Regions from separate parts of the Homo sapiens genome. Here region 1 is linked to region 2. Evidence: promoter capture Hi-C in 16 types of primary human blood cells and fetal thymus (Javierre and others, 2016). All regions are on one chromosome and are shown on one strand. Each heading gives the region's core, a stretch centred on a gene start or on the middle of the fragment in contact. The rest is flanking DNA. Distances are from core to core; before and after follow the strand shown. Region 1 holds the start of LOC105377392 (a long non-coding RNA gene). Region 2 holds the start of NDST4 (N-deacetylase and N-sulfotransferase 4).

Region 1 (6,851 bases), core at 3,375-5,874, 3.2 Mb after region 2:
ACCTCAGTCCTCTTCAGGGGGTCTGCAAGGTCAAAACGATTTTTATAATAATGTGAATTCATTATATGCCTTCGTCATTGTGTTGATATTGATACTAATGGTGCAATAACAATAATGGGTAAAACTGCTCGTGCTTTAGCATAAATCAAGCCAGTAGAATTAATCTGTACTATTGTATTCATCATCATCACACACTCATTTTTTAAAACAGTGTCACTTATGATTTGACAAAGCAGTAAAATTATTGATATTATTACATTTCCACACTACAGTATATGCTTTTTAATCTTCCGTGTGACAAAATGTGAAGTGTGCCTGAAGCATGTCTGCTACATACTGAAGTAGGTGGTTGTCTTGAAAAAAAAGCCCTTGAGCAGCTGTTTGAGTTGCAAGTGGAACTAGCCACTTTATTCATGGAACATCCTTTTTACTTGAAAGAATGACAGAGAATTATGGTTATTCAGACTTGAGCAATTGGCAAATGTTTTCTTAAAACTGAACGAAGTGAGCCTCTCACTTCAACAAAAAACAATTGACAGTATTTCTTGCCAATTATAAAATTTCAGCTTTCAAGTAAAAATTAGAATTTTGTACAACTTGTATTGCTACCATGAGCTTCACAGCATACTCATATTTAAAGATCTTTCTGATGAGATTGGTGGTGATATTAAAAAACGTAATTTTCTAACATTATATAATGAAAGGTGTCAATGTTTGAAAGATCAGCATAACTCAGTAAACCATTTTCCAAAAAAGCAATGCATGAGGTCACAAAACACATATACATAGTATACAGTATACATATACATAGCATAATCGTTATAATAGTGAAAGGTCTATTCTCAGAGTAAGATAAACCAGTAGATTTTAATGTAGCACAGTATGAACAGTTCATTGATTTATTTCAGATTCCACATTGCAAAAATATCCTTTAAGACAATAGCACTTGTCAATTTTGAATGTAGTATCAAAGAAAAATATCCACAATTATCTGAAAAGGCTATAAATATATACTTTCTTTTCCCACATATGGGTATATAAATATATACTTTCCTTTCCCATACACATAAGGGTATGAGGCCAGATTTTCTTCATATACTTCAACAAAACAACCTATCAAAATAAATTGAATGCAGAAATAGATAGGAGAATCCAATCTCTATTAAGCCAAACATTAAAGAAATTTACCAAAATGTAACACAATGCCATTCTTCTCATTTTCTTTTGTTTTGGGAAACATAGCTATTTTTTCTTTAAAACTATAGCTTTATTATGGGTTTGTTCTTGTTATTTTTTAATGTTTTTTGATTTCTCCATTTTAATTTCTAATAAATTAAATATTAAAAACTATAACTCTATATTATCTATATAGAGTTATCTATAATATTGATAAATTTATCTATAATATTGATAAATATAATGCTTTTGTTTTATAAACAAAAGCCCTTTGGGGTTCTCAACAATGTTTAAGAATGTAAAAGGATCCCCAGACTAAAAAGTATGAGAGCCATTGGCACGGGAGTTGGAAGTAACTTAAGTACCTAAAGCCAAGATTTACACCATCAACAATAGGCTAGAAAGAAAATAAGTGGGAAGCCAGACTACACCTCCTCTCCACCACCTTCCCACTCTACTCCCAGAATGGAGTTGCCTGGCTAGAGATGAAGGAATACTGCAAAAAGGAAAAGAGAGGTAAATTCAAGTTTGGGTTTCTTCTCCCCCTGCCTTCCTCCTTGACACCAAGCTGAGCCCTAAAAATGGAGGATGAGAGATCTTTAAGTCTGAGGATCAAACAGTAGAGAAAGCTGTGCCCTACTTTCCATTTAAAACTCTGCAAAGCAGCAACCTCCTCCGTGTACTCTGCCCACCAATGGTGAAGGCCCTCCCTCCAAGCAGTAGAGATAGCTCATGGTATCCTAGGTATAAATACACAGGTTTGCACAAGCTCCACAGTGGCACAGGAGAACACATAAAAGTTCCATTTCTCCAGATAAGCTGCAGGAATCACCAAGAAAAGCCTTTTAAATCCAAAGGGACCTGGCAGCTGGGACAAAGACGGCATTGAATAACCTGCACAGATTGATGACTACGGGCCATGAAAGGAGCCTAGACCGTGGAATCTAGAGATCACTTTACAAAGACTGAACCTGTTGAGGTTCATCCAATGCCAGCAGAGGAGAGATGATGGCTGAGAACAGATGTTACCCTACCACTTCATGTCCACTGCCATGACCACCTTTGGAAGAAATGGAGAGAACAATCTTGACTTTGACTGGGTTTTCCTAAAAGATATTTAAAAATCATATCTTGAATGGGGACAATTATTAAAAACTAAAGAAAGCTCTATTTTGGACAGGTTGTGAATTATGGAATTTTTACGCACTACATAAGCATTACATTTCAGGTCCAATTAGCAACAATGGATACTCAGGGAAAAAGGGCACTCAGCTAGGGTTTGAGGTTAGTGATAGGCTCTGCCTCAGTTAAGATGATCCAGTGTACACACAGTGATGTAGTCAGGGTTGAGTCTGCAGGTGAGGTTCATCTGTGGATTACCATCTTCCTCCAAAAAACCTATTCCATTCTTGTGGTAGACACACTCTAAGAGTGATGATGCCTTTATATGATCCTATCTCCTTGAGTGTAGGCAAGAACTGTGAATACTATAGGATAGTGAATCCCTTGGTTAGCAAACCCCACATTTGATCTGTCAAGAAATCCTGTTGGCTCAATCTTCACTTCTATCCAAAACCAACCACTTCTCACCAAATCCAGGGCTGCCACCTCATTCTAAGATGCCATAATCAGCTGGGCGCGGTGGCTCACGCCTGTAATCCCAGCTCTTTGGGAGGCCAAGGCGAGTGGATCACAACGTCAGGAGATTGAGACCATCCTGGCCAACATGGTGAAAGCCCATCTCTACTAAAATTCAAAATAAAAAATTAGCCGGGTGTGGTGACACACACCTGTAGTCCCAGCTACTCAGGAGGCTGAGGCAGGGGACTCACTTGAACCCAGGAGGCGGAAGTTGCAGTGAGTCAAGATCGCGCCACTGCACTCCAACATGGCGACAGAGCAAAACTGTGTCTCAAAAAAAAAAAAAAGATGCCATAATCTTTATCCTGGTTATCCTCCCTACTTCCAGGTATCTGTACTACAATCCGCTATTAACCCAACATCCAGGGTAATCCTGAGAGGTGACAGCACGCTGGCAGCCCTCACAGCCCTCACTCGCTTTCGGCGCCTCCTCAGCCTCGGCGCCCATTCTGGCCGCGCTGAGGAGCCTTTCAGCCTGCCGCTGCACTGTGGAAGCCCCTTTCCGGGCTGGCTGAGGCCGGAGCCGGCTCCCTCAGCTTGCCGGGAGATGTGGAGGGAGAGGCGCGGGCGGGAACCTGGCCTGCGCGCGGCGCTTGCGCGCCAGCGCGAGTTCCGGGTGGGCGTGGGCTCCGCGGGCACCGCACTCGGAGCGGCTTGGCCAGCCAGCCGGCCCCGCCGGCCCCGGGCATTGAGGGGCTTAGCACCTGGGCCAGCAGCTGCGGAGGGTGCGCCGGGTCCCCCAGCAGTGCCGGCCCACCAGCGCTGCGCTCGATTTCTTGCTTGGCCTTACCTGCCTCTCCGCGGGGCAGGGCTCGGGACCTGCAGCCACCCATGCCTGCGCCTCCCCCCACCTGGGCTCCTGCGCGGCGGGAGCCTCCCCAACGAGCGCCGCCCCCTGCTCCACCGCGCCCAGTCCCATCGACCGCCCAAGGGCTGAGGAGTACGGGCGCACTACGCGGGACTGGCGGGCAGCTCCACCTGCGGTCCAGGTACAGGATCCACTGGGTGAAGTCAGCTGGACTCCTGAGTCTAGTGGGGACTTGGAGAACCTTTCTGTCTAGCTAAGGGATTGTAAATACACCAATCAGCGCCCTGTGTCTAGCTCAAGGTTTGTAAACACACCAATCAGCACCCTGTGTCTAGCTCAAGGTTTGTAAACACACCAATCAGCACCCTGTGTCTAGCTCAAGGTTTGTAAATGCACCAATCAGTGCTCTGTGTCTAGCTAATCTAGTAGGGACTTGGAGAACTTTTGTGTCTAGCTCAAGGATTGTAAACGCACCAGTCAGCACCCTGTCAAAACGGACCAATCAGCTCTCTGTAAAATGGACCGATCAGCAGGATGTGAGTGGGGCCAGATAAGGGAATAAAAGCAGACTGCCCTAGCCAGCAGTGGCAGCCTGCTTGTTTGGGTCTTCTTCCACGCTGTGGAAGCTTTGTTCTTTTGCTCTTTGCAGTTACTCTTACTGCTGCTCACTCTTTGAGTCCACACTGTGTTTATGAGCTGTAACTCTCACCATGAAGGTCTGCAGCTTCACTCCTGAAACCAGCAAGACCACGAACCCACCAGAAGGAAAAAACAAGCTGCGAGACCAGGAAGAAACTCCGAACACATCCGAACATCAGAAGGAACAAACTCTGCACACGCTGCCTTTAAGAACTGTAACACCCACCGGGAGGGTCCGTGGCTTTGTTCTTGAAGTCAGTGAGACCAAGAACCCACCAAGTCCGGACATAATCCTTTTACAAATTAAATCAAAGCACTTTAATTCCTGCAATAGCTCTACTTTTTATGCTACGGTCCTTATAGTGGCCTGCAAGGCCTTACATGATGTGGTATTCATCACCTTTCTAACCGCAGCTCCTCTTTTCAAACTCTCATTCTGCAACAGTTGCACTGGCTCCCTTGCTGACTATCTTATTTAAGACATTCATGTTAACATGCCCACAAATATCAACGTGGCTAACTTCTACACTGTAGTTCAGTCTTTGCTCAGATGTCATTTTCTCAATAAGGCCTACCCTGACAACCTTACATAAAATTTCACCCCTTCCTCCCTTCCCTGACTCCTGATTCCTATTACTCCGAACTAATCTTTTTTGAACCATAGCACTTAAAATCTTATAACTAATTCTGTAGTTTACCAATTTTATTAGATCTTTTGTCTTCTCCTACTTGAATAAGCTTCTCGAAAGCAAACTATTTGTCTTTTCTTTCATCAATATATCCCCACATCGATGGGTCTAGTCTCTGAAATAATAAGTGCTCAATAAATACTTGTTGAATTAATTTCACAATAAGTAACTGGAAAAGACATGACAGTTTTAACATACATATGTTCTTATATTTAAGTGCTAGAAAAAAGTATAACTTTTCATAAAAATCAATAAATTCGATTAACAAAAATATATATTTCCCCAATCATACAAAGACTTAAAACTGTCTTCTAAATAACAAAAAATAAATTCAATTTTAAATAATAATTAAAATTAGCAAAATAATTATTAAATGTAGGACAAAAAAACAAAACCTCTAACTTTTAAATGATAATTACCAGATAATTCTTATAAGTTATCCTAACAATAATACCAAAAGGAAGATACTGCTGGTTTCCTTCTACAGATGAGGAAACAGGTTTGGAATGGATAGATAATTTTCCCAAGGTCACACAAGTAGCAAAGCTCAGACTTATTTTATACCTAGTATCATTTTTCTCCCTTTACACACAACACCAGTTAAGAGCATGGGCTCTGAGCCAGTGAGACTACATTCAAATCCACTTCAAACCTTAGGTTAATTACATTATTTCTCTGTGCCTCAATCTATTCATCTGTAAATTAGAGACAATAATTGTATAGCGCTCATACAATTGTTAGGATTAAATGAGTTAATGAGCACATAAGTACTCAATAAACATTAGTTATCACCATTACTACTATCTCCCTTAGAGACTGTAAATAATTGTAGTCAGGTGCAGTGGCTCACACCTGTAATCCCAGCACTTTGGAAGGCTGAGGTGAGCAGATCACCTGAAGTCAGGAGTTGGAGACCAGCCTATCCAACATGGCGAAATCCCGTCTCTACTAAAAGTACAAAAATTAGCCAGGCGTGGTGGCGTACGCCTGTAATCCCAGCTACTTGGGAGGCTGGGGCAGGAGAATCACTTGAACTCTGGAGACGGAGGTTGCAGTAAGCCGAAATCTGCCACTGCACTCCAGCCTGAGCGTCAGAACAAGACTCTCAAAAAAAAAAAAAAGATACTGTAAATAATTATTTTCAGAACCCTTTTGTGTTATTTTATATAATTTACTTTCTTAGTCCTTTTCAGTAAGTTCTGTTCAGTGCTATAAAGAATGGTGGGTATTTCAAAATTCGTATGGCTTTTATCAAATTTAAGTCCTCAATTGCAGAGATTTCTTTCTAGACCTTCTGTTTTCTAAGAAATACTGCCCATTTACATAAATTATCATCCTGATAAAAGGGTTTTAAATTAGAGAAATACAAAAGTCACTTATCTGGTTCTATTCTACTTAGTTTTCTATAGTTTTACTTATATAATTAAGAAATAACTACTAACACGTCTTACATATTCAGTTGAAGGTTTTTTTAATGATTGTTCATTTGGAGATGAAATATATTTATTTTTCTCTCTATAGTGTAAGTATGACATTTATTTTAAACTTTTTGTTTGAAATTTTACAAAGATGGCAGAAAACAAATCTATAGACCAATCATATTCCTGAATAAAGAGGCACAATTCTCAACGCAATGTTAGCATGCAGAATCCAGAAACAGGTTACAGGTAGAATACACGGTGACAGAGTGAACTTTAAAGAGTGAATATGGAAAGGCTGGTTGAGCACTGTCCAGGAAGGTGGAAATTAATCTATTCATTTATGACTTTTTAAATAGACCTTTTGAGGGTGTATGATTAGCTACTGTAAAACTCACCCAGGTGAAGTGTACATCTCATAACTGCTGAGTCATTAATGGAATTGAATAGCCATCATGGCGATCTGATGTCAGAAGATCT
Region 2 (7,443 bases), core at 2,720-5,219:
CCCTTTTTTCTCAGATTTTTCAAAATTTCAACTAATTAAACATAACTATTTATTTAGTGTTAATGAAGTATATTATCTCTTTTAAAAGATATATCTAAAATAGCCTATGTATGTAAATGACCTCAAAGGGTCACCTGAAAACCATTATTTAGCCTGTCATGTGTAGTTTATTTTATTAAAACCTATTTCATGGCATGAATTTTCTGAATACTGATGAATATAGACAAACTATAACAATGCAAAGAAAATAAATACATTAAGTTATATCAGCAAACATGTTTACCTGTTGGAATGAAGAGTAATTTACTATTCACATTTCAAAAAAATATTTTTGCCTTGAAATGCCTGAGGCTATTGATGAGTTTGGAATTCATTTTCAGACTATTTTAGCTTTTGAGGAAATCTATTTTCAATTCAATATTATTTCTGAAAGAAATTTTAGATTTGTCACCTCTAGAAAGTGATAGTTTTCCTTAGAAAACTGAGATAAAGAAAGCTTGGAAATAGAACTATATCTATTAGAAATGCCTGTATATATGTGTACACATTCTGCATTGCAAATAACACCTCTAACTTCTTAAGCTTGCTGAAAATAACTTTTAAAAATAGGGCATTTAACACCCTGCATAACAGCATAGCTGAAAGTTTCCTGAAGTGTTAAAGAAAAGGCTGGCTAGATGTTTTATCATGATGGCTGAAGGCGGTAGCATTGTGTCTGACACCTGACCCATTTATCTCACTTCGTAAACTTCAAATAAATCAACAGACAACATGGTTTCTCTTTTTCCTAGTTATCTGGGGGTACGTAATGAGAGTTTACCTTATGTTTGCTGCCTACCTTCAGAAGATATATGCTACAACAGTATTTAGTGTGTGTATCTTTACTGTAAATTTTACTAGGCCAGGTATTTTAATAAAACTTTCACATTTCTTTGTTTTGGCATGTATCCATATGTGTCATTTCTGATCTCTCTGCCTCTCCAAGATCATGGTTAGATGATGCATCTCATCGTTATTTCTTTTTCTTTTCCTGAGAATAAACTGTATTTTATAGGAGTTTCTGGTAGGCTTATTTGCATTTTTTCAACAGAGCAACTTTTAATAAAGAAGAAACCTTTGTTAGTTTAAAATTTAATTCTACTTAGAAAATATATTTGTTCTTTAAATATCCCACAGTTTGTACTGGAGAAAAAAAATAACACTTCAGGTTAGACTCTAAACATAATGCATTATCAATGAATTTTAGCCCAGAAAGAATTAGCCTTCTGGGTGCACAGCTTCTCTGTCTTGGCTTCCAGCCAGGGCTGATATTCTAGCTTTATTTTATGTTTCCCCAGCTGCTTTCTAAATCTGGGAAGGCAGCACCAGCCAGAATCTTCTAGTTTGAACACAGTATGCTAAATGCTTCTCTCTTCTCCCTTAGTAATTGCTTGTAAATGATGCACACAAAGTTTGATCTTTGGATTTTATTTCCAAAGGCCCCCTTTCAACTCAAACAGAAAGTACAAGGGGATCATATGAACATTTAACCTACTGGGGACAACTGTTCTACTGGGTTGGAAACATTTATTTAGTACGTTTAAGAACTAATGTTAGTATTGAGATTGAATTATGTTTATTTTAAATCCAAGTATAGAATGCTTTTCTTTGGGAGAAGAAAGAATAGGTATAACAGTTTTTAATCTCAAATAAAAAATGAAAGATCCTTATTTTCCTGAGGTGAACATAAGCATGAGCATATGTTTCTATTTTGATTATCAATTATAGAAATTCCAAATTATGACTTAATATATTTATATATAAAAATAGTCCCCATATACTTCCTTTTGATGTTTAGGATAATATATTTAAAATTACACATTTCTTAAATAATAAGCCTATCTTGGAGAAAACAAAATGTAATTTACATATATTTGCATTTTTATTTATTATTTATATATTTGCATTAATCAATTTAAAAAATTCAAATTTTCAGGAGGTTTTACCTTCCTTTTATTTAAAAATAATGCCTGAGTTTCTAAATTGGATCTAAGGGTGATTTTCAAGTTATATTAGTAACTCATATATATTATAACTTTTTCAAAGGGTTTTTATGTATCAGTCTTAGTGGTGACCAGGTGCCATTCAGATAGAGTTAAAAGGCCCATTCTGCTTAGTATTCAATTTCTAAAAATCTTCCCAATTAGCTTATTATGAGATGTCTATCAATGTAAACATTGTTTAATATTGATCATCATAATGTATTGTCATACGATTTCTTATTTTTAAAAATGTCAACAATAGTAGGCTTAACTTCCCATTTATATATTGAGATAAATGTAAATGGCAATTATATTTTGCTTATTAATTAGTTTTTTATGAATTCCAGTTGAAAACTTAGACTGTTGTAGTCAGTGGACTTTATATTCTTTACATAAACTTGCTACTCACACACACACACACACGCACACACTCATGCACACAAATGACCAGCACAGAACCTATGTGACACTGGGATATAGCTAACTGGCATACTTTTAATAGAGTAGAATAAATTACTCTTTTGATATGAAAAAAAAAAAAAAACCTTTACATCGTTGTGGGAAAATTCATTGCTTCCTAGTTTTGGGGAAATTCAACCAATTACAATAACTTTCATCTTTATCAATTTCCTCTTGGGGCAGAAACCTCACAGGATTTTAACCATGTTGTTGGTGAGAAAGTGGAAAACTAAAATCATTCTGAGAGTTACAGAAACACATCAGTATCTTGGTATGCAATTTATGTTAAAGCATTTATGAAACTGTGCAAATGAAAAATATTCTGATAAAAGGCACCACGAAAACAAGCAAAGGTGAGTTTGAAAGAGACATGATAAAACATAAACTTAAAACTTTCTAAAGCTGTATGAGAACTCACAGTATAACTTATCATAATAAACAAAACATATAATCACTTAAAAAAACTATGACAGGAATTCTGTAGAATATAGTATTTTATTAATCAGGACAAATTCTAAGAAAAATAAGGTTTAATTTTCCTTATTTAGCTTTCTCAAAAAGAATATTGAAAAGAATGAGTAAAACCATATTCCAATAACATTTCTTGTTTTCCAACTTATTCTGTGCTTGAGGAAATTGGAGGTATACCATAAAGCTTTCTGTCCTCCTAGGAAACTATGCTTAGGGCATATGACATATATTGTTCTAAGAATTTATTTTTCTTTTCTAATAGGAGGTAGGAGGAAAGCACCTATTTCTTTATAAGCAATTTATGACTGTAACATACAATTTCACATGTCTGTGACAGCTGTTTCTCTAAAGCAGACCATTAGTACAGAGCATGCCTATAAATCTCAGGTCCAAAAAACAGGAGTTCCCATCTTCGGTAATTTGAATGCCATGTTTTCAGTAACACTTATTAGGGAAACATTTATAACCCTACAGTTAACTTTGGATGTTGAGTTTGTAAAATTGGTGCTTTTAATATGAAAAGGCTAAAGTTGTTATCAAATAAGATATTTCCTATGCAAATGTTCCGGCAACTGTTTAAATTTTATCAAGTTGTATCTCTTTTTTTTTATGTACGACTGTATTTTCTACTTACGTGCAAATATAACTTCTATAAAGCATGATGACAGGTAAGCACACACATGCGGAAAAGGGAGATTGAATTTGGTTTTAAGATATTATCTGCTTCTACATAAATCTTTCACAAATAAAACTTTATTGTGTCCGACTTGTTTACATAGCTAAGCAACGCATATTCATTTATGATACACACCTCGATTTCAGCAAATTAAGCAGTAACTTACCTAGAGAAGCATTTCAATATTTTGTCTTTTTCTAACTTGAATTTATCCCGTGTTAGAACATGAGATATCCAGTATTCAGGTTCACTTGGCTCCAGGTTAATTAGAAGGAGCTTTCAGTTCATGCAATCTGCCTCAACAATATTCCAAGAGCACTCTCTAGCTCCAGTCTTAGTGTCTGAACTCTTCCAGCAGAGTCCTTTTATTTATACACACATTGTCCTTTTCAAAACAAGCAGCCAGCTGGAATGATTCAAACCTCTGTTCAGCACACCGTTAAAATGCAGCTTCCTTCTTGGACACGAGAATTACACCAGGGAGCAGACCGAGTACAGCAAAAAGGCTATGAGAACTATTTAATCACCGGAATACCAGCTGCTCCTGCTCTGCTGTTGCTAGTGCTGCTGTGCCTCTTGTTTAGCTGTAGTCGGTCTTTCCCTCCCTCCCTCTCTCTCACATCTCCAGAACTATAAAGGCAGCTTTGCCGGATTATGATTGGCAGAAACAGCCAATTCCTTCAGCTAATCATCCTCAAGACTTTCAAGGACCTGGAGCTGTTGTGATGTCATCCAGTCAGTGGGATGTTACACATGAATACATTCCAACAGAAGCTAATTCAGCGATGGGCTGCATTCCGCTCACACCGCGGTGATTGATTAGATGCTCCTTGAAGATTTGCATAATCTTTCATTGTACAGTTCGACTATTTCCTATGAAATTTGAGGATAGAATTCCACTTTGCAGCTATGACACTGTTCCACGAGATTCTATTGGACAAAATAAGAAAAGTTCAAAGCAGGATTTTCTGCTGTAAATGTGTGCCAGTTAAACACAAAAATTACAAACTCAACAAAAGCCAACAATGAGCAATAGGAAACTCGGACAAGTATTAGTAAGCTACATAGTCCTGAAGTTAATAACAGCATTTTAGACCATGATAAATGTTAGAAGAAAAGAAAGAGTATGTGCGTGTGAATTTATTGTGTGCATTGTTTTAGTAATTAAGGTAAACTACTGGATTATTATGGAAAAGTTCTTTTCTATGTCTCTTTTCTTCTTTTTAACGTGGCAATATAAGTTGAAAATTACCTGCTCTTTGTTTTCTATTAATTCGTGTAAACACATAAAGATATTATCAAGTACTTTTATATACATTATGTAAAGTTCTTTAAACTTATTCATTAGGATATATGTAAAAGTAAAAGTAAAGTGCTTTCAGGTACTTCTCCTCATTCCAGACTACATGATTCCCTGGGCTTTTCTTGCTTTAGTACATCCCTTAGTTTCTACCATTTAATTTAGTGGAATAAGATAGGCTAATGAGAATTTGGTTCAACACCCCTAATAGGTTGCAGAACAGAACTACAAGCTTTTCTCAACTCCAAGTCCTCCTCAGGTATATGGGTGTCTTTGGTTGTACGTAGTAGTTCCACTTGAAATACTGGTGTGGTTTCAATGAAATCCTCTATAAGACTGGAAGGTAGGGGTAGGAGGGAGTCCTTCAAAACTCAGCATTTATTGATGATGTGGTCTTTCAGAAGAATAATTTTAATGCATCCAGGATTACTAGTATTATTATACTGCACAAGGTTTTGAGGGTTAGCAAGCCATAGACATATGCCATACAGAGAATAGGGAAAAAAAATCTAGCAAGTTAGAAAAAATATTTACCAGTTATTCATAAGCAATAAATAAAACCTAGTAACTCATAGGTCATGTATCAGTTAGTTTTTCAGGTGCACAGGCTAAAATATATTAAAGAAAAAATTTATATTTTAAAAATAATTAAAGCGTTCAGGTACTTCTTACTACCTTTTAAAACATTTGGAATGCAAAGATGCATTGAAGTCAAGTCAGAATTTTCAGAGTGATACACATCAAAATTCAAAATGGATAAATAAACTGCAGTTAAATATTTCAAAGATGTCATAATAAAATAATTATTACTAGAGTAGCATCATGGGAAACACTAACAGTTGATAAATAACATAAAATAGCATAAATTGTAAAAGCCAATTGAAGATTTTTCTGTTGTATGTAGTTTGGCTTACTAATAATGCCTTCTTCTTTATTCAAGTTGGGTAATTATTTTTAAGTCTTAACTTTAGAAAAATAATTTAAATGAAAAACTATTATAAATGCTCAACATCTTTATATTATTGACATAGTTCTATTTCACAACTCAAGAATGCCACTTTATCAGAGTATTTTCATTTATTGGAACTAAATGGCAACACAGTGATCTGAAGATAAAACCCATCACATTAAAACATGGAGCAGGGTTTATATCCTCGGCTCTAGTGATAAACTAGAGCTGATATCCATTGATGATTACAAGTGAAAAATGTTGATCAACTTCTTCTCTAGCATTAAACTATAAACAATGTTTTAAGCTGAAGAGGTAACTACTTTCACAGTGTAAAAATGCTATATAAAATATTAATAGAAGATATTCTTATTAAAGGTAAAATTCTTTTAAATATTTGTGAAACATGAACTTTGAAATTCAAAAAATCCAGAGATGAGTAATTAAAATTCAATTTAGGGAAAAAATACCCAACTTTACTCTCCCTGCCTCATTTTTCATTCAGAAATACACTAAGTACTGAAGGCAGAGGGTCCCACCATATACATATGTATAAATGAATGGAAACCCACCAAAAAGTGCTTTCTTTTCTATTCCTGGGGAAAACCAGAGAAATTCACAACACTCACACTAAAACAAAACAAAATAATCCTCAAAGTATTTTGAATATTTTTCTTATACTTTTCTTTGTATATTGTATTCGCAAATGACTAAAACAAACATATTTGTGAATTTGTAATCTTTTATCATTTTCTCATCTGTCATGTTGGGAAAATGAAATAAATGACCTTGGACATTTCTGGGAAGAAATGTAATACACAAGAGAGAAAAGAGGAAATAATTACTTGCTCAAAGTGTTTTAATTTTTTAAATCATTTAACTTGTGTTCCACAATTTACAGGGCTTGCACTTAAATATCAAAATGTAGCATCAAGTCAGCTCATTTTCAACAATACACGCAATGCAAAGCATTCACCCAATTGCTTATAGTTGACTTTTAAGAAGAAAGTGGATGCTTTTAAGTTTCTTTAAGCACTCTATAAAGTATAATATAATTGTTCTTTTATCTATTAAGATGTAGGTCCAGACTTATATTAAGACCTCAATGGATTTTTAAAAAATTGAATTGAACTTGTTGAACTAATAAACTTTTAGAGCTCCACATATTTTTATTCAGTTGCTCTCTTGACTCAGCAAAAGTTAAAGTAGTATTTGCCCACTACAAAACCTTTTCATTCAACTGAATTTATCTTTGAATTTACCTTTTAAATTTTCAGTGGCGTTTCCTTGGAAGTTCAAGAAATGTGTATGTGTTATATGCATTATTTGGAAATTTTAAAAGTGAAAAACATTGAAAACATTATATAATATACACTTATAACATATATCTAAGAACATAATATACTTTCAATTTAATTTATAAATACATATATACGCTTTGTTCTTTATAATACACACATATATCTTTGTATATACTTACTCAATAGAAGAAAAAAAGATGTTTATTTTAAAAGGAAGGTCTTTTTTTTGTTTGTATGTCAAGTCTTTATTACAGTGAAAATGAGAG

Evidence for each region. The method cuts DNA at HindIII sites, captures the fragments that hold promoters and counts their contacts. A CHiCAGO score of 5 or more calls a contact.
Region 1: a contact is called between a fragment that was not itself captured here and the fragment with the promoter of NDST4 in region 2, in 1 of 17 cell types (total CD4 T cells). The highest score is 5.7, in total CD4 T cells.

The regions. Positions count from the first base shown.
Region 1 is chr4:118,262,177-118,269,027 of GRCh38, forward strand. LOC105377392 (a long non-coding RNA gene) reads right to left here and starts at 3,857. Exons shown (of 3, transcript XR_939113.3): 1 at 3,608-3,857. It overlaps LOC124900765 (a long non-coding RNA gene), which reads left to right and starts at 3,775. Exons shown (of 2, transcript XR_007058244.1): 1 at 3,775-3,806; 2 at 4,275-4,595. The HindIII fragment of the contact is 751 bases long and covers 4,250-5,000 here.
Region 2 is chr4:115,109,651-115,117,093 of GRCh38, forward strand. NDST4 (N-deacetylase and N-sulfotransferase 4) reads right to left here and starts at 3,970. Exons shown (of 14, transcript NM_022569.3): 1 at 3,794-3,970. The HindIII fragment of the contact is 2,024 bases long and covers 3,134-5,157 here.